Linked DNA regions of Homo sapiens: region 2 is linked to region 1. The links are contacts of gene promoters, found by promoter capture Hi-C in blood cells and fetal thymus (Javierre and others, 2016). All regions are on one chromosome and are shown on one strand. Each heading gives the region's core, a stretch centred on a gene start or on the middle of the fragment in contact. The rest is flanking DNA. Distances are from core to core; before and after follow the strand shown.

Evidence for each region. Contacts are between HindIII fragments. The CHiCAGO score rates a contact against its expected background, and 5 or more counts as called.
Region 2: a fragment that was not itself captured here is called in contact with the fragment with the promoter of WRAP73 in region 1 in 1 of 17 cell types (neutrophils); the score reaches 5.5 in neutrophils.

What each region holds. Positions count from the first base shown.
Region 1 is chr1:3,644,844-3,652,784 of GRCh38, reverse strand. It overlaps WRAP73 (WD repeat containing, antisense to TP73), which reads left to right and starts at 2,682. Exons shown (of 12, transcript NM_017818.4): 1 at 2,682-2,854; 2 at 5,225-5,377; 3 at 6,003-6,119. The coding sequence starts at 2,786. It overlaps TP73 (tumor protein p73), which reads right to left and starts at 269. Exons shown (of 14, transcript NM_005427.4): 1 at 144-269. RefSeq lists a silencer at 1-658 and an enhancer at 1,618-2,461. The HindIII fragment of the contact is 11,564 bases long and covers 1-3,573 here.
Region 2 is chr1:15,608,849-15,616,789 of GRCh38, reverse strand. It overlaps the pseudogene CD24P1. Among named protein-coding and RNA genes, the nearest start is that of DDI2, 4.6 kb to the left of the region's middle. The HindIII fragment of the contact is 3,416 bases long and covers 950-4,365 here.

The DNA.
Region 1 (7,941 bases), core at 1,433-3,932:
CTGTGTCGCCTTGTCCCAGCTCGTCCCCGATCGCTCTCCCCTCACCTCCCAGCTTCGGAGCTGCGAGCCCAGGTGCCTGCCCAGCGCTGCGCTCCAGCCCCCGCCCGCGGAGCCGAACCGCCCCCCGGCCCTGGGCCTCCTACCTGCAGCCGTCGCAGCCCCGGGCATCGGCGTCCGTCCCGGCTGGCCTGGCGCGGGCCCCGGTTTCGCTGCGTCCCCTTCGCGGGCGCGCGAGCCTCCGGGCGGGTGCGCGGGCGGGGAGGCAGGGCGGGCTGCCCGGCCCCTAGGCGGGTTATATGGGCGCGGGGAGGGGAGGCGCCGCGGGGAGTAGGCGGCCGCGGGCGTTAGCGCCTTTTTAGCCCGGCGCGCGGGAAGGCAGCGCGGGCCACCGAGTCGCGGCGGGGCCAAGGTCTCCTCCCGGCGCTCCGCCTCTCCAGCTGGCCGCGTCCAAGTCGGGGTCCCGGGCGCGCTCTGCCCCGCCTCCTTCCCGCCGCCTTTTGGCGCGCGTCGCTCCTGCAGAGCCCGGCGAGGCCGCCCACGCAGGGCCGAAGCAGGTCCGGCGCCAGGGCCCCTCCCGCGGGCCAGACCCGACCGCGATCTTCGGCAGAGCTGGGGACGCCGGTGCCGACTCTGTGCCCGACGCCTGCGTTTCCCCCGGACTCCCTGCTGTCCCCCAGACGGCCCATCTTTCCTGACACCCGGGTCTCTCCTGGCCGCCGCCACTAGCGCTGGGCTCCTCGGCGCGCGGGGCGCTTGGAATCCAAGGGGCAGGGGATGTGGCCGGCGGGGAACAGGGGTGAGGGGCGGGGAACAGGGGTGAGGGGCGCCGCCCCAGGCCCAGGAGGAGGGGAACGGCTGCTTTCCGCCAAGCAGGGCTTGCCACCCACTTCTCCTGTGGAGCCACGGTCCCGCCCGGCAGAGGATCCCGCGGAGAGCCTCTGGGGGCTGCTCTCCCAACCCCAGCCGGAGTTTGGGCCCCACGTCCTTCCAGGGGTCACCCAGGACGCGAACACTCCCGGGCGGCGGCCAGCACCCTGCTCCCTCCCCCGGCCGCCGCCTGTGGGCTCGGGCTCTGGATCCCGTTCGGTGTTTGGAAGGAGCTCGCGGGCGTCGGTGCGCTTGGAGTTGTTCTCTGCGCGCACCAGACCTGCGCTAGGTCAGGCCGAAGCTCTCTACCGGCCAGCGACACCCGCCGCCCCGCCCGCCTGCTCCTCCTAGGCCATCGGGGCTTCCAGGGCCCTCGACCACGTACACCAGGCCCTGGCTAGGGGACCCGACATGCTGGGCGAGTTCCGAGCGGCTCTCAGTGGCGGCGCTGCTTATGGTCTGATGCTTATGGGGCCCGTGATCTGGCTCCGAACCGATGTCCTCTGCCCATGGTGACCCCCACGTCTTGGAAAGTCGCGTCAGTGAAGCCCGTGGCTTCGCGAGCGAGCCGGGCTGGCGCAGACTGGGTTCTCTGGCCGCAGCGGGTCCGCGCCTGACGGGGAGGGTCCGGCTGACTCGCACATCTTCATGGCTCACCCACTGTTTGCTGGGCGCACGGGGTGGGGACCCAAAGACGAATCCCATGCAGAGGTTTGGGTCTAGTTTTGGCAACAGAAAAGGCCGGCACCGCCGGAGTAGGACGCGCGCGCACCACCATCCATTCGGCCGGGGAGGTTGGGGCGTCCGCGGGGAGCAGACCCGAGGCTGGGCGCCCGGAGGTACGAGCAGGACCCTGGCCGGCTCTCAGCTCCCAGAACCCAGGGCCAGGCGGGGATGTCAGGGTCTGCGCGATCTGGGGGGCCCTAGAGGCGCCGGCGGGGCCTGGCGCGGACTACTAGCGGCCTGCGGGAGCCAGGGGTGGAGGGGGCCGCTGTCTAGGGAAGAGGACCGGGGTCCGGAGTGGGGGTGAGAACGAGGCACGCCCCTGAGCCTGCGAAACCTGCGGACCGAGCGCCCGCGCAGGAGCTCGCTCCCTCTGGGCCCCCAGGTCCCAGACCCGCACGATTCTTCGCCCGGTGCCAGCCCAGATGCGCGCGGGTGATGAACGGGCGGTGGCCGCGATCCACGCGCTCGCTCTGCCCAGTCAGCGGCAAATTCGTTCTCTCCTTGATCTCAGTGGCACTGGAGCGTGAGGCAAGGGCCAGGCGGCAGGTAGAGGGGTCGGACTCAGCAAAAGCAAACAAAACCCCAAGCAAACGAAATAAATACTTATACATTACATACACGATATAATATATGTGCGACAGACACCGTATTACTTATTAAAGATATATTTGTAGGTAAACATATATTTACATGTAAACATACATTTACATATAAATATAAATATATATATATGCATGTGTACACACACGCAGACACACAGGTCGCTCAATTAAATTTGAATTTCAGACTAGCGAGTAATTTTTCCGTATTAGCATGTCCCGTGCAATATTTGGGAACATACTTATAACTAGATTTGTTGTGAATCTGAAATTCAAATTTTACTGTGCTTTCTACATTTTTATCAGCAGCCCTAGCTGGAGGTGCTCAAAGGCCTCCCGGCCTTTGAGGTAAGGTTCTCGGGTCGGAAATCCCTGGTCGGAAGAAACGTGGGCGTTTCCTTTAAAGCCCTGCGGCACAAGAACTACAAGCCCCACAATGCCGCGCGGAAGCCGGCGGCGCTGATAGGCTGCAGTTCACTTCCGCCTTCTGACTTCCGGCCTCGGAGGCCGGCGTCGGCTGTTGCAGCCTGCTGCGCGCCCAGGGGTCCCGCGGGTTTTCGGGCGCAGGGTGGCGCCCGCGGCAGGCGGCGGCCATGAACTTCTCCGAGGTATTCAAGCTCTCCAGCTTACTCTGCAAGTTCTCCCCGGACGGCAAGTACCTGGTGAGCGGCGGGGACCTGGGCCACGGGCAGGACATCCTCGGTGCCAGCGTCCCCGGCGGGCAGGGCCGGGGGCGGCCGCGTGGGTGGAGGCAGCTTGGGGATCCTGCAGGTGCGGTGCCCGGACAGGTGCGGGGCCCGGGCAGGTACCCGGGGCAGGTGCAGTGTCTGAGCAAGTGCCCCAGACAGGTGCGGGACCCAGGAAGATACCCTAGACAGGTGGAGGGCCCGGGGAGGTGCCCCAAGCAGGTGCGGGGCCCAGGCAGGTACCCCAAGCAGGTGCGGGGCCCAGGCAGGTACCCCAAGCAGATATGGGGGCCGGACAGGTGCAGGACCCCGGCAGGTGCCCGGGCAGGTGCGGGACCCAGGAAGATACCGTAGACAGGTGGGGGGTCTGGGGAGGTGCCCTTGGAAAGGTGGGTATCGGCAGTGCCGACTGCACACAGGTGAGGGTATAGGAGATGTCGGCTCTTTGTTGTTACTTTGTCACAAAAGGCAAATTGATGATTCTGTTGCCTGTAAACTGGTAAGTGGTGTGGCTACTTTGTCATCTCTACTTCTCCTCTAATTCTCTTCTCCTCTACCACATGCCGAATAAATGATTTAAATACTAGTATTCTATCCCCAGGTAAGGAAGTAGTTGTCCTCATGGCTGGGATTTGAGGTCTTCGTTCCATGGGTGGCAGAAGGGTGCTTAAATCACAGAGCTATAACTTTAAGCTTCAAAACATATAGTGTATGTACCTGGATGCCTAGTAGTGTATATCCTCAGAAGAGAGGGATAACCCGGATGCCTAGTATGTATGTCCTCAGAAGAGGGGGACAATTGGCATTGGAAAGCCACTAAGAAGAAACATGCCTCGTAAAAAGTGGGCTTCGTTTTCCTTATCCACCACCTGTACTAACTGACTGATGTATCATGATGCTTTTTCAGGTTTTGCCACTCCTGACATTCCTGTGCTCTGTCTAGCTTTTGAGAGTTTAACTCTCAAATTACGTTTTTTACCTCTTCAGGGAGGTTTTATTCCAAATCACATAAAATAGCATCAGCTACAAAACAGAAAACCTCATTAGTTTAAATGGCATCTCAGCCTTGGTATATTTTCAATGTGCCCCCCTCCTCAATTAAATGAGAGGTTTGTTTTTTGTTTTTACCATTTATGAAAATTTCAGTGAATTATAAGGAGAAAGATTACATCTGCTTGCTTAACTTGGGTGTTTTTTTCCAGCTTGTACACTCTGGTCAAAATACCCTGAAACACTTGGTAATGATCTGTTACTGGAATCATCTTCTTGAAAGCCCTGAGGACTGGGGAGAGCAGGTCCATGTTTCTAGTTTTCATATCTTGCAGTAGAGTTTATGTGGTTCCTCAAGGTGTTGGTAAAAATATTCCATTTCATAAGGAATTCACTGTAACTGATCACAGTTTTCAAAGCTACAGTGTGAGAAAGTAAGTGCTGTGGTAGCTCCTTGTTCCAATCTGCCGTCACCCGCCTGTCTCTCTTTTCTCCCACGGAAAACTAACGTGGCTTTCTTTTTTGATATCGGTTCATAAAACACAAACTACTTTGACCTTGATAAGTAAAACTAACGAAGCAGTTAATATTTAAACATCAGTTCTTGATCTTGAAACTGTAGTAAAATATACATTCAGCAGGTGAGTACTCAGGCGTTATTTTTACTTGAAATTGTTTGCTTGGATAGGGACATAATGAACAAATATGGACAAGAAGAAACTATCTTTAAGAAAATAGTACTAACACTTAAACATTTCCCGTTTCGTGTTAGGAATAGGTTAATGGAGATAAATGAGCATTTGCGAAGCATCTTTATGTGTGCAGAAGTGAAAGCCTGTCTTTTGATCTTCTGTTGTTTTGGCTCTGAGTTCGGCACTGCATAAGAAGATTGATGCATTCCTTGCCATTTTCGTTGTCATCTGTGAAGCCTCAATTCTTACCCTTTATAAATTTGAGGAAATTGTCCAAAAGTGTTTATAAAACTAGCAGAGGATTTTGGTTATTAGTTCACAGAAGAGCTTTCTCCCAATGCTACTTCCCATTTAAGTTTAGTTTTTAACATACAGATAAGAAGGGACTTAAAAATGTCTTAAAGCTTTAAGTAGCGAGTTAAAACATACTTTTATACTTTACAATAGAGTATAGCAATATTAAAACCTGGCTTGTATATTTCAACATTACCCTTGTATGAACTGAACTGATCTTTAGGGGCTGGGGATGTCACTGGTGATCTAGACATGAAACCTCTGGCAGGAGAGAAGGCCACAGTCACTGAAGGCCAGGGCAGTAGCATTCCGAAGGCCCCCCTCTTTTGGAGTGGAGAATGTCAGGTGCTTGCTTTCTCATATTTTTTAGGCTTCCTGTGTCCAGTACCGGTTAGTGGTCCGGGATGTGAACACCCTTCAGATCCTTCAGCTGTACACGTGCCTAGACCAGATCCAGCACATCGAGTGGTCGGCAGACTCGCTCTTCATCCTGTGCGCCATGTACAAGCGAGGGCTGGTGCAGGTGTGTGCTGCCGTGTCGCTTAGAATCTGGACACCTTCTGAGGGCCCCTGGGAAGGAGGGGTTTTGTTCTGTGCCTTTCTAGTTTGAAAAAAAAGTCCGTGCAGCTCAAAGCCAGTTTTCTTTTGAAATTATAACGTTCTCTAAAGTTTAAGAACATTTAAACTAAGGAAACTCCAACGTAGTCTTAATTTCTAAGCAATATAGTTGAGAAACGGAGGTGTTGACAGCAATCTAGCCACGCGGATGTGGTGTGTTTCAGGAAGTCCTAAGAAGTCGTGTTTTCTTCTGTGTCCAAAGCTTAACTAAATGAGGTCTTAGGAATGACAATGTGAATAAACAGTTTTAAAACAACAACGAAATGAAATCACCAAGAAGCGTGGCTTACTTTTACACTGGAATCCAGCACCAGCCCTTCATCATGAAAGGTTCTAAAAGACACCCTGTGTGATCGGGTCTCTGCTGGTTTTAAGGGAGTTGTCTCTCGGCGAGGCCTCGCTATAGACTGCTGATGAGTTTGAAGACACCCTGTGCGGTCGGGTCTCCGCTGCGTTTAAGCGAGCTGTCCTCGCTGTCTCTCGGTGCTGATGAGTTTGCACTTGTGTGTTTCTTTCTTCTCTCAATCCAGGTCTGGTCTTTAGAGCAGCCCGAATGGCACTGCAAAATAGACGAGGGCTCAGCCGGGCTGGTGGCCTCGTGCTGGAGCCCGGACGGGCGCCACATTCTCAACACCACGGAATTCCATGTAAGTGTCAGCCCCAAGACACCTTACTGGCCATGTGATCCTGTCCTCTGCTCTCGAAACAGCTGGGGAGTGCGAGAGGGGGTGTGTTTGGAGTATGCTAGTCTCCCCTTATCCTCAGGGGATGCATTCTAAGACCACCAGGGGATTCAGATTGTACCAAACCCTGTATTTCCTGTGTTTTTTCCTATACAGCATACCTGTGATACATTTAATTTATAAATTAGATACAGTAAGAGATTAGCAACAATCATAGTATAGAACAAGGATAACAATATACTGTTTATAATTGCATGGATAGAAGATTTGGTCTTACTGAAGATCTGAGCAACAACCTCAGCATAGGATTTTTTCTTTCCTTGTTGCGTCAAGAACTTTCAGCTCGTCATTTAAAGGAAGCACTTTGTGGCTTCTCTTTGGCGTATCCAGATTGCGAGCCCCACCGCCCGTGCTTTGGGCTGCTACTGAGTCAGATAAGGGTGTCGTGAACACAGGCACTGTCTGCTGCCCTGGGTCTGATGACTGAGGTGGCTCCCGAGTGGCTGGTAGATTGGCGGGGTTGGAGGGAGCCGGGGAGCGTATATAGTGGTGTGTATATTTTAGGTCAGAGCATTATAAGCCACTAAGTATTATTGTCTGATCTTTTGTCCAGTTTTGAAGAAAAAACATTTTAAAAATCTTAATTTAGATTTTTTAGGATTTCGGCACTCCCTTTAATTCAACGATAGAAAATGCGCTGTGATATGAGCCGGCTCGCACCTTTCCTTCAGGAGCCTGGCCTGGGGGCGTGGCTCGGGGCGGTCGGCAGCCGCCCATTCACCTGCTGTAGGTACCGCACAACAGCCTCCGTGCTGAGCTCAGCGCGGAGGGGAATGTTGACATCCGAGAATAAATCAGAGGGATCTGGGATAGGAGACTGCATTTTAAGTTAAAATTAGGCATATGTCAAGTGTTTAGATACCAGGTCTTTGGTGTCCGCAGTGTCTTTTTAAGATACAGAAAAATGGACGAATTCCTTTAATAATGTGCTTTTCTGATGGAGTTGGATCCCAGTGTTTGGGCCCAAGTCCACTGAGTGCTCATAGCTGTCTGGGCTGCTGGCTGCACCTCGGTAACCCGCCCATCCCGCTGCGCCGCGCACACCACGGGGCAACCCGCCCATCCCGCTGCGCCGCGCACACCACGGGGCAACCCGCCCGTCCCGCTGCACGGCGCACACCACGGGGCAACCCGCCCGTCCCGCTGCGCCGCGCACACCACGGGGCAACCCGCCCGTCCCGCTGCGCCACGCACACCACGGGGCAACCCGCCCATCCCGCTGCGCCGCTCACACCACACTGCAGCCCTCCCGTCCCGCTGCGCCGCGCACACCACGTAGATGATGGCACCTGGGAGGATTTCTCCCAGCGTGTGGCTGCAGATGCTCTGTAGGGTTTCATTCGGCTTTTTTCAAGCTGGCATCGGCTGGGATAAAGTTTTATCCAGCCATGAGGGTTGCTGAATCAACTGCTTCAGATGGCTGGATGGCTTTACATATTTTTCAGTTTCGATTTTAAAAAATACTCCAAATCTAATGTCTGCTATTATGGGCTGTCAGAGAATAAGACAGGAAACAAAGGCCCACCAATGTCTCCGCACTATGTATTGACATTGGAAGGCACTTTCGGCCTGAGTGTTTCAGAGAGGATAATTTGAGCTTTTCACGCAGCCGTGTCTAACAGTCTTCAGGCCTGTAATGCTTTGGGCCCAAATCTGCCCTTGAGAAGGGCTCATGTCATGGGGTCAGCCTTGTTGTATTATCTTATTAAATGGCCCAGAAGGAAAA
Region 2 (7,941 bases), core at 1,408-3,907, about 12 Mb before region 1:
TACTTGGACTGTGTCTGTTTCCTAGCCCTAGCAACTCCTACCACCTAGCGCAGTGCCTTTTTGGGCACAGCTTAGAATCTACTCAATAAATATTTGCTACTTTAATGGCCTGTTTTTAAGGCACACAGCTGATGAGTGGTAGAGGCCCAGAACTAAGGTGCGGATGAGTAAGAAAACCAAAACTGAAAGATGAACTTGTAATGGATGCCAGATTAGCATCTTTCCATTTACTCCCACTCCCCCTCCATGGTAGGGAGCCCTTTTCCATTTTAACAGGAGAGAAGGAGCAAATAAGATGGCTGTGGGTGCAGGTAAGTAGGTAGTAAGTAGGCTGTTGGTGGCAGGAAAGGGAGAATTAGCAGCTGAAGGCTTTTACAAAGAGAAATTAGAGGAGCTGGGCGCGGTGGCTCACGCCTGTAATCCCAGCACTTTGGGAGGCCAAGGCGGGCGGATCACAAGGTCAGGAGTTCGAGACCAGCTTGGCCAATATGGTGAAACCCCGTCTCTACTAAAAATACAAAAATTAGCCGGGCATGGTGGCGGACACCTATAGTCCCAGCTACTCGGGAGGCTGAGGCAGGAGGGTCACTTGAACGCGGGAGGCGGAGGTTGTAGTGAGCCGAGATCAGGTCACTGCACTCTAGCCTGGGAGACAGAGCGAGACTCTGTCTCAAAAAAAAAAAAAAAAAAGAGAAAGTAGAGGCACAGGGGAGTGAGAATGCTTATATCCCCTAGGAGCAACAGAAAGCTTGACTATCAGTGGCTTAAACAAACAAGGGTTTGTTTTCTCACAGGAGAGAAGGCCTGGAGGTAGCAACAGCACTGGTTGAGTGGCTCACTGAAATCAGGGCCAATACTTTTGTAATTGTCTTGACCTTTTCCTGAGGGTTGCAATATATGGCTGGCTGCCTCCACTGCACGCATCATTTTCCTATTCAAGGAAAAAGCTTGCCCAGAAGTCCCTGTGCACATTTTTGCTTACATCTCACTGGACAGAATTGTGTCACATAGATGCAAGAGAGGCTAGGAACGCAAGTATTTAGCTTTGCCTAAAGGACATAAATAGGGAAAAGGGGGGCTGGGAATGGGTATTAGGAAAGATGTACACAGTGCCTTCTACAGTGAATGTTTGAAATAACCATTGCAAATTGAAGCAAGTTTAGCTGAGAAATGTTCTAGGATTGCCCAGTGGTGGTATCAAGGAATCAGTTGAGGCTTGAATCATTGATTAATTGTTATATTTGGTCTAGTGGTGCTCAGGTTCCCAGGTCTGGCAGATTTTGTTCTCCAAAGATGACCATGACAGTGCCTCCCATCGTCTATGCTCTTCCTACAACATGATTGGATAACCCTCCCATTAAGAAGTGGGGTGAATGTCCCTCCCTTTGAATCATGGCTCGGCAGACTAACTCTGGCATAAGTGACATTATGTGATTTCCTTTTTTTTTTTTTTTTTTATCAAGACAGGGTCTGGCTCTGTCACCCAGGCTGGAGTGCAGTGGCACGATCATGGCTCACTGCAGCCTCAACCTCCAGGGCTCAAGTGATCCCTCCAGCTCAACCTCCCCAGCAGCTGGAACTACAGGTGTGCACCACCACACGCAGCTAATTTCTTTTTAGTAGAGATGAGATCTTGCTATGTTGCCCAGGCTTGATTTCCTTTTTATTATGATTTTACATTATTTTTAGTTAAAAAAAATAGGGATGAGTCCTTGCTATGTTGACCAGGCTAATCTCCAAATCCTGGCCTCAAGTGATCCTCCCACCTTGGCCTCACGAAGTACTGGGATTACAGATGTGAGCCATCGCACCCAGCCACTTTGTGTGATTTTTAAGGCTAGGTCTCGCCTGTGTCCACCTGGAGCCAGCAGTTCTCACCCAGCATCCAGCAATATATGCCAGACACCAATGGAGGGGACAAAGCAATGGTGGACAGGCTCAGGCTGGGGCTGCTGCTTCTGGCACTGCTCCTACTTATGCAGATTTATTCAAATCAAACTATTGTAACGTTTTCAAGTAACTCCTCCCAGGGTACCTTGTCTGCCCCAAACCCAGCTAATGCCACCACCAAGGCAGTTGGCTGTGCCCTGCAGTCAACTGCCAGTCTCCTCATGGTCTTGCTTTCTCTTCTATATTTCTACTGTTAAGAAACATCTATACTTCCGTGTCTTCTAAACCCATTCCAAATGGCATCTAGGAGTCCAATGTGGCAAGAAAAAAAGCGGGTCTTCATCAAATCTATTAATTTCACACCTTCTTTTACTGATACAGAAAAGGTTGAGAACCTGGCCAGGTGTGGTGGCTCATGCCTGTAATCCCAACACATTGAGAGGTCGAGGCAGGTGGATCACCTGAGGTCAGGAGTTTGAGACCAGCCTGGCCAACATGGTGAAACCCCGTCTCTACTAAAAGTACAGAAAAATTACCCAGATATGGTGGTGGATGCCTGTAATCCCAGCTACTTGGGAGGCTGAGGCAGGAGAATTGGTTGAACCTGGGAGGCAGAGGTTGCAGTGAGCCGAGATTGCGCCATTGCACTCCAGCCTGGGCAACAAGAGCAAAACTCTGTCTCAAAAAAAAAAAAAAAAAAAAAAAAGGCCAGGCGCGGTAGCTCACATCTGTAATCCCAGCACTTTGGGAGGCCGAGGCAGGTGGCAGGTGGATCACAAGGTCAGGAGTTCAAGACCAGCCTGACCAACATGGTGAAACCCCGTCTCTACTAAAAATATAAAAATTAGCCAGACGTGGTGGTGTGTGCCTGTAATCCCAGCTACTCAGGAGGCTGAGGCAGGAGAATGGCTTGAACATGGGAGGCAGAGGGTGCAGTGAGCCGAGATCGCGCCATTGCACTCCAGCCTGGGCGACAGAGTGAGACTCCATCTCAAAAAAAAAAAAAAAGGAAAGAAAGAAAGAAAAGGTTGAGAACCCCAAATTTAATTGCTTTGAAGAACACGTGAAGGGTTTGACTAGATGATGGATGCCAATATTAAATCTGCTTAAATGTCATGTACAAGATGAAGAGAGGCAACATCCAAAATTGAAGACATTATTTCTTGAATGTGGCTTAAGAAATGTGGACAGTTAAAACTACCTTGAAAATAAGAATAGTAGATCCTGAGACAAAACTTGGGTAATAAAAAAAAAATAATAATAAATAATAGATTTTATCTTGTTTAGAAATAAAGATGTAATATGGAGTGGAGATTCAGTTTTCATTTGGTTCATTAAGTCTATACGGCAGTAAAACCAGTAAAATAAAAGATTTCCATTGGCAGGGGTGGGGGTGGCTCATACCTGTAATCCTAGCACTTTGGGAGGCCACAGCAGGAGGATCGATTGAGCCCAGGAGTTTGAAATCACCCTGGGCAACAGGGTGAGACCCCATCTCTACAAAAAAAAATTTATTTTAATTTAATTAATTTATTTATTTATTGAGATGGAGTCTTGTTCTGTTGCCCAGGCTGGAGTGCAGTGGTGCGAGCTCAGCTCACTGCAACCTCCACTTCCCTGGCTCGTGATTCTCCTGCCTGAGCCTCCCAAGTTGCTGGGATTACAGGCCTGCACCACCATGCCCCGCTAATTTTTATTTTTTGTTTTTCCTTTCTGAGACACAGTCTCGCTCTGCCATCCAGGCTGGAGTGCAGTGGTGCGATCTCAGCTCACTGCAACCTCTGCCTCGCAGGTTCAAGTGATTCTTGTGCCTCAGCCTCCTGAGTAGCTGGGATTACAGGCACCCACCACCATACCTGGCTAATTTTTGTATTTTTAGTGGAGACAGGGTTTCACCATGTAGGCCAGGCGGGTCGCAAACTCCTGACCTCAGGTGATCTACCCACTGGGCCCCCCAAAGTGCTGGGATTACGGGCATGAGCCACTGCACCTGGCCATAATCTCCTTTTTTTTTTTTGAGGCAGCGTTTCACTCTTGTCCCCCAGGCTGGAGTGCCATGGCACGATCCCAGCTCACTGCAATCTCCACCTCCCGGGTTCAAGCCATTCTCCTTCTTTAGCCTCCTGAGTAGCTGGGACTACAGGAGCATGCCACCATGCCCAGCTAATATTTGTATTTTTAGTAGAGATGGGGTTTCACCATGTTGGCCAGGCTGGTCTCAAACTCCTGACCTCAGGCGATCCAGCTCTCTCGTCCTCCCAAAGTGCTGGGATTACAGGTGTGAGCCACCGTGTCTGGCCCACAAATTTAAAAAAAGAGGTGGGCATGGTGTCACACACTTGTGGTCACAGCTACCCAAGAGACTGAGGTAGGATGATCACTTCAGCCCTGGAGGTCAAGGCTGCAGTAAGCCATTATCATGGCACTCCAGCCTGGGTGACAGAGCAAGATCCTGTCTTAAAGTTTAAAAAAGCTTCCATCGGCTGGGTGCAGTGGCTCACACCTGTAATCCCAGCACTTTGGGAGACCAAGGCGGGTGGATCACAAGGTCAGGAGTTCAAGACCAGCCTGGCCAAGATGGTGAAACCCCATCTCTACTAAAAATACAAAAAATTAGCTGGGCACGGTGGCAAGTGTCTGTAATTACAGCTACTCGGGAGGCTGAGGCAGGAGAATCGTGTGAACTCGGAGGGTGGAGGCTGCAGTGAGCTGAGACCGCACCACTGCACTCCAGCCTGGAAGACAGAGTGAGACTCCGTCTCAAAAAAAAAAAAAAAAGCTTCCATCATTCTATAAATCCTCAATGTATTATTTCAGCAGTACTAATTTAATGCCAATATATTAAGTTTTACATTGTTAGGCTATCACTGTTCTTTTGGTAACTGAATTCTTTTTCCTCTGAGGATTTGGATTTGACATTGCATTTGACCTTTTATTTAGTAATTGACATGTGCCAGGGCAATGATAGACTGCAATCTACCCCCAAGTCCAAGCATCATCAATAACTCTTGTTTATCCTTAGAGAGTCAAATGGTAGGCATTTCATTTCACCTATTTTCGTTCAACAAGGACACCAGATTCATTAAGGGGCTGGGTGCGGTGGCTCACCCCTGTAATCCCAGCACTTTGGGAGGCTGAGGCAGGTGGATCACTTGAGGTCAGGAGTTCGAGACCAGCCTGACCAACAAGATTAAACCCTGTCTCTACTAAAAATACAAAAATTAGCTGGGCATGGTGGTGTGCCTGTAATCCCAGCTACTCAGAGGCTGAGATAGGAGAATTGCTTGAACCTTAGAGCCAGAGGTTGCAGTGAGCCAAGATCATGCTACTGCTGTCCAGCCTGGGAGACACAGTGAGACTCCATCTCAAAAAACAAAAAAAGATCTGTTTTGAAGGTAAAATTATAAACCTTGAAATTAAAAGGGCAAAAATGTAAAGGAGCCAAAAACTGTATATCAAGTATTTGGAAAGTAAAGACTGAAAGTTAACTTGCATTAAAGTCACAAAAACTTTTATACTCTTTTCTTTTTCTTTCTTTCTTTTTTTTTTTTTTGAGATGGAGTTTCACTCTTGTTGCCCAGGCTGGAGTGCAATGGCATGATCTTGGCTCACCGCAACCTCCGCCTCCCAGGTTCAAGCGATTCTCCTGCCTCAGCCTCCTGAGTAGCTGGGATTACAGGCACGCACCACCACGCTCGGCTAATTTTGTATTTTTAGTAGAGATGGAGTTTCTCCATGTTGGTCAGGCTGGTCTTAAACTCCTGACCTCAGGTGATCTGCCCGCCTCAGCCTCCCAAAGTGCTGGGATTACAGGCCTGAGCCACCGTGCCCAGGCTATACTCTTTTTCTGTAAATGCTTTTTGCAAACAACAACTATGGATCAGAATAGCTGCATTTAAAACACATTTTGGGGCTTTTTTTTTTTTGAGACAGAGTCTTACTCTGTCGCCCAGGCTGGAGTGCAATGGAGCGATCTTGGCTCACTGCAACCTCCGCCTCCCAGGTTCAAGTGATTCTCCTGCCTCAGCCTCCCGAGTAGCTAGGATTACAGGTGCACAACACCACACCTCGCTAATTTTTGTATTTTTTGTAGAGACGGCATTTCACCATGTTGGCCAGGATGGTCTTGAACTCCTGACCTCGTGATCTGCCCACCTCAGCCTCCCAAAGTGCTGGGATTACAGGCGTGAGCCACCGCACCCAGCTGGGGCCTTTTTTTTTAAGAGACATGGTCTCACCCTGTTACCCAGGCTAGAGTTCACTGCGGCCTCAACCTCGTGGACTAAAGCAATCCTCCTGCCTCAGCCTCCCAAGTAGCTAGCACTACATGCGTGTGCCACCATTCCCAGCGAATTTTTATCTTTTTGTAGAAATAGGAGTCTTTCTATGTTCCCAAGCTGTTCTTGAACTCCTAGGCTCAAGCAATCCTCTTACCTCATCTCCTAACGTGCTGGGATTACAGACATGAGCCATCATGCCCTGTTTGAAACACATTTTGTTATGTCAATATTTTTAGATAGTTAGAACCTGGTCCTAAACCGCAAAGTAAGCTTGATTCTGTAATAAAAATGTTTACAACTGTCTTGACACACAGAAACCTTTTTAAAAATAGACACTCCCTGAAGTCCTTTGTTCACAAGGTCACACACTGATGCTTATGTGTTCCAGCATCTAATATGGCCACAGTAGTCTTTTTTTTTCCATCTTTAGAAACCTACACGGGAACAGCAGATGGAACAGATCTGAACCCACTCCACTGTGTGTGTGAATGAACACTCCCTTTTGCTCCATGCCGAAATGCTGTACATCTATTTTGGATTGTATATTTGTGTGTGTATGCTTTGATTCATAGTAACTTGTTATGAAATTGATTTGTATTGAATACAAACTGCAAATAAAAATAAATCAATGGCTGAAAAAAAGTCAGTACAGCTTCTCCGTGATTCTCTTGGAACGCTTGCTCTTGGAACCCAGCAGCCATGCTGTGAGGAAGCCCAAACTACACCACACGGTGAGACCGCATGGAGAAAATACGTGTGGTTGTTCCAGAAAGCTGCTCAGCTGAGGGGAAAGCTGATTAGCGGGAAAACTCACCAAGCACAGAAGTGAAGACACTTTCAGATGACTTCAACCCCCAGATGTTGAATCATCTCCAACTTATGAGTCTTTCCAGATGAGGCTTCAGACATTATGGAGCCGTCTCCACTGTATTGCCTTTGAATTTCTGACCTACAGAAACTATAAGCATAATAAAATAAAAATACAAAGTAAAACCAAAATGAGATACCACTTTATGCTCACTAGGATGGCTATAATAAAAAAGACAGAGTTGGGCGTGGTGGCTCATACCTGTAATCCCAGCACTTTGGGAGGCCAAGGCAGGCAAATCACTTGAAGCCAGGAGTTCGAGAGCAGTCTGGCCAACACGGTGAAACCCCATCTCTACTAAAAATATAAAAATTAGGCCGGATGCGGTGGCTCATGTCTGTAATCCCAGCACTTTGGGAAGCAGAGGAGGGCGAATCCCGAGGTCAGGAGTTCGAGACCAGCCTGACTAACATGGTGAAACCCCGTCTCTACTAAAAATATAAAAATTAGCTGGGCATGATGGTGTGTGCCTGTAATCCCAGCTACTTGGGAGGCTGAGGCAGGAGAATTGCTTGAACCCAAGAGGTGGATGTTGCAGTGAGCCGAGATCGTGCCATTGCACTCCAGCCTGGGTGACAGAGTGAGACTCCATCTCAAAAAAATGAAAATAAAAAAATAAAAATTAGCCGGCTATAGTGACATGCGCCTATAACTCCAGCTATTCTGGAGGCTGAGGCAGGATAATTGCTTGAACCCTGGAGGTGGAGGTTGCAGCGTGCCGAGAATGTGCCACTGCACTCCAGCCTGGGGGACAGAGGGAGACTCTGTCCAAAAAGATACTCAAAAAAAAAAAAAAAAAAAAAAGGCAGATGATAACAAGTGGTGATGAGGATGTGGAGAAATAGGAACCCCTAATAGACTGCTGGCGGGAATGTAAAATGGTGCAGCCACTTTGGAAAAAAG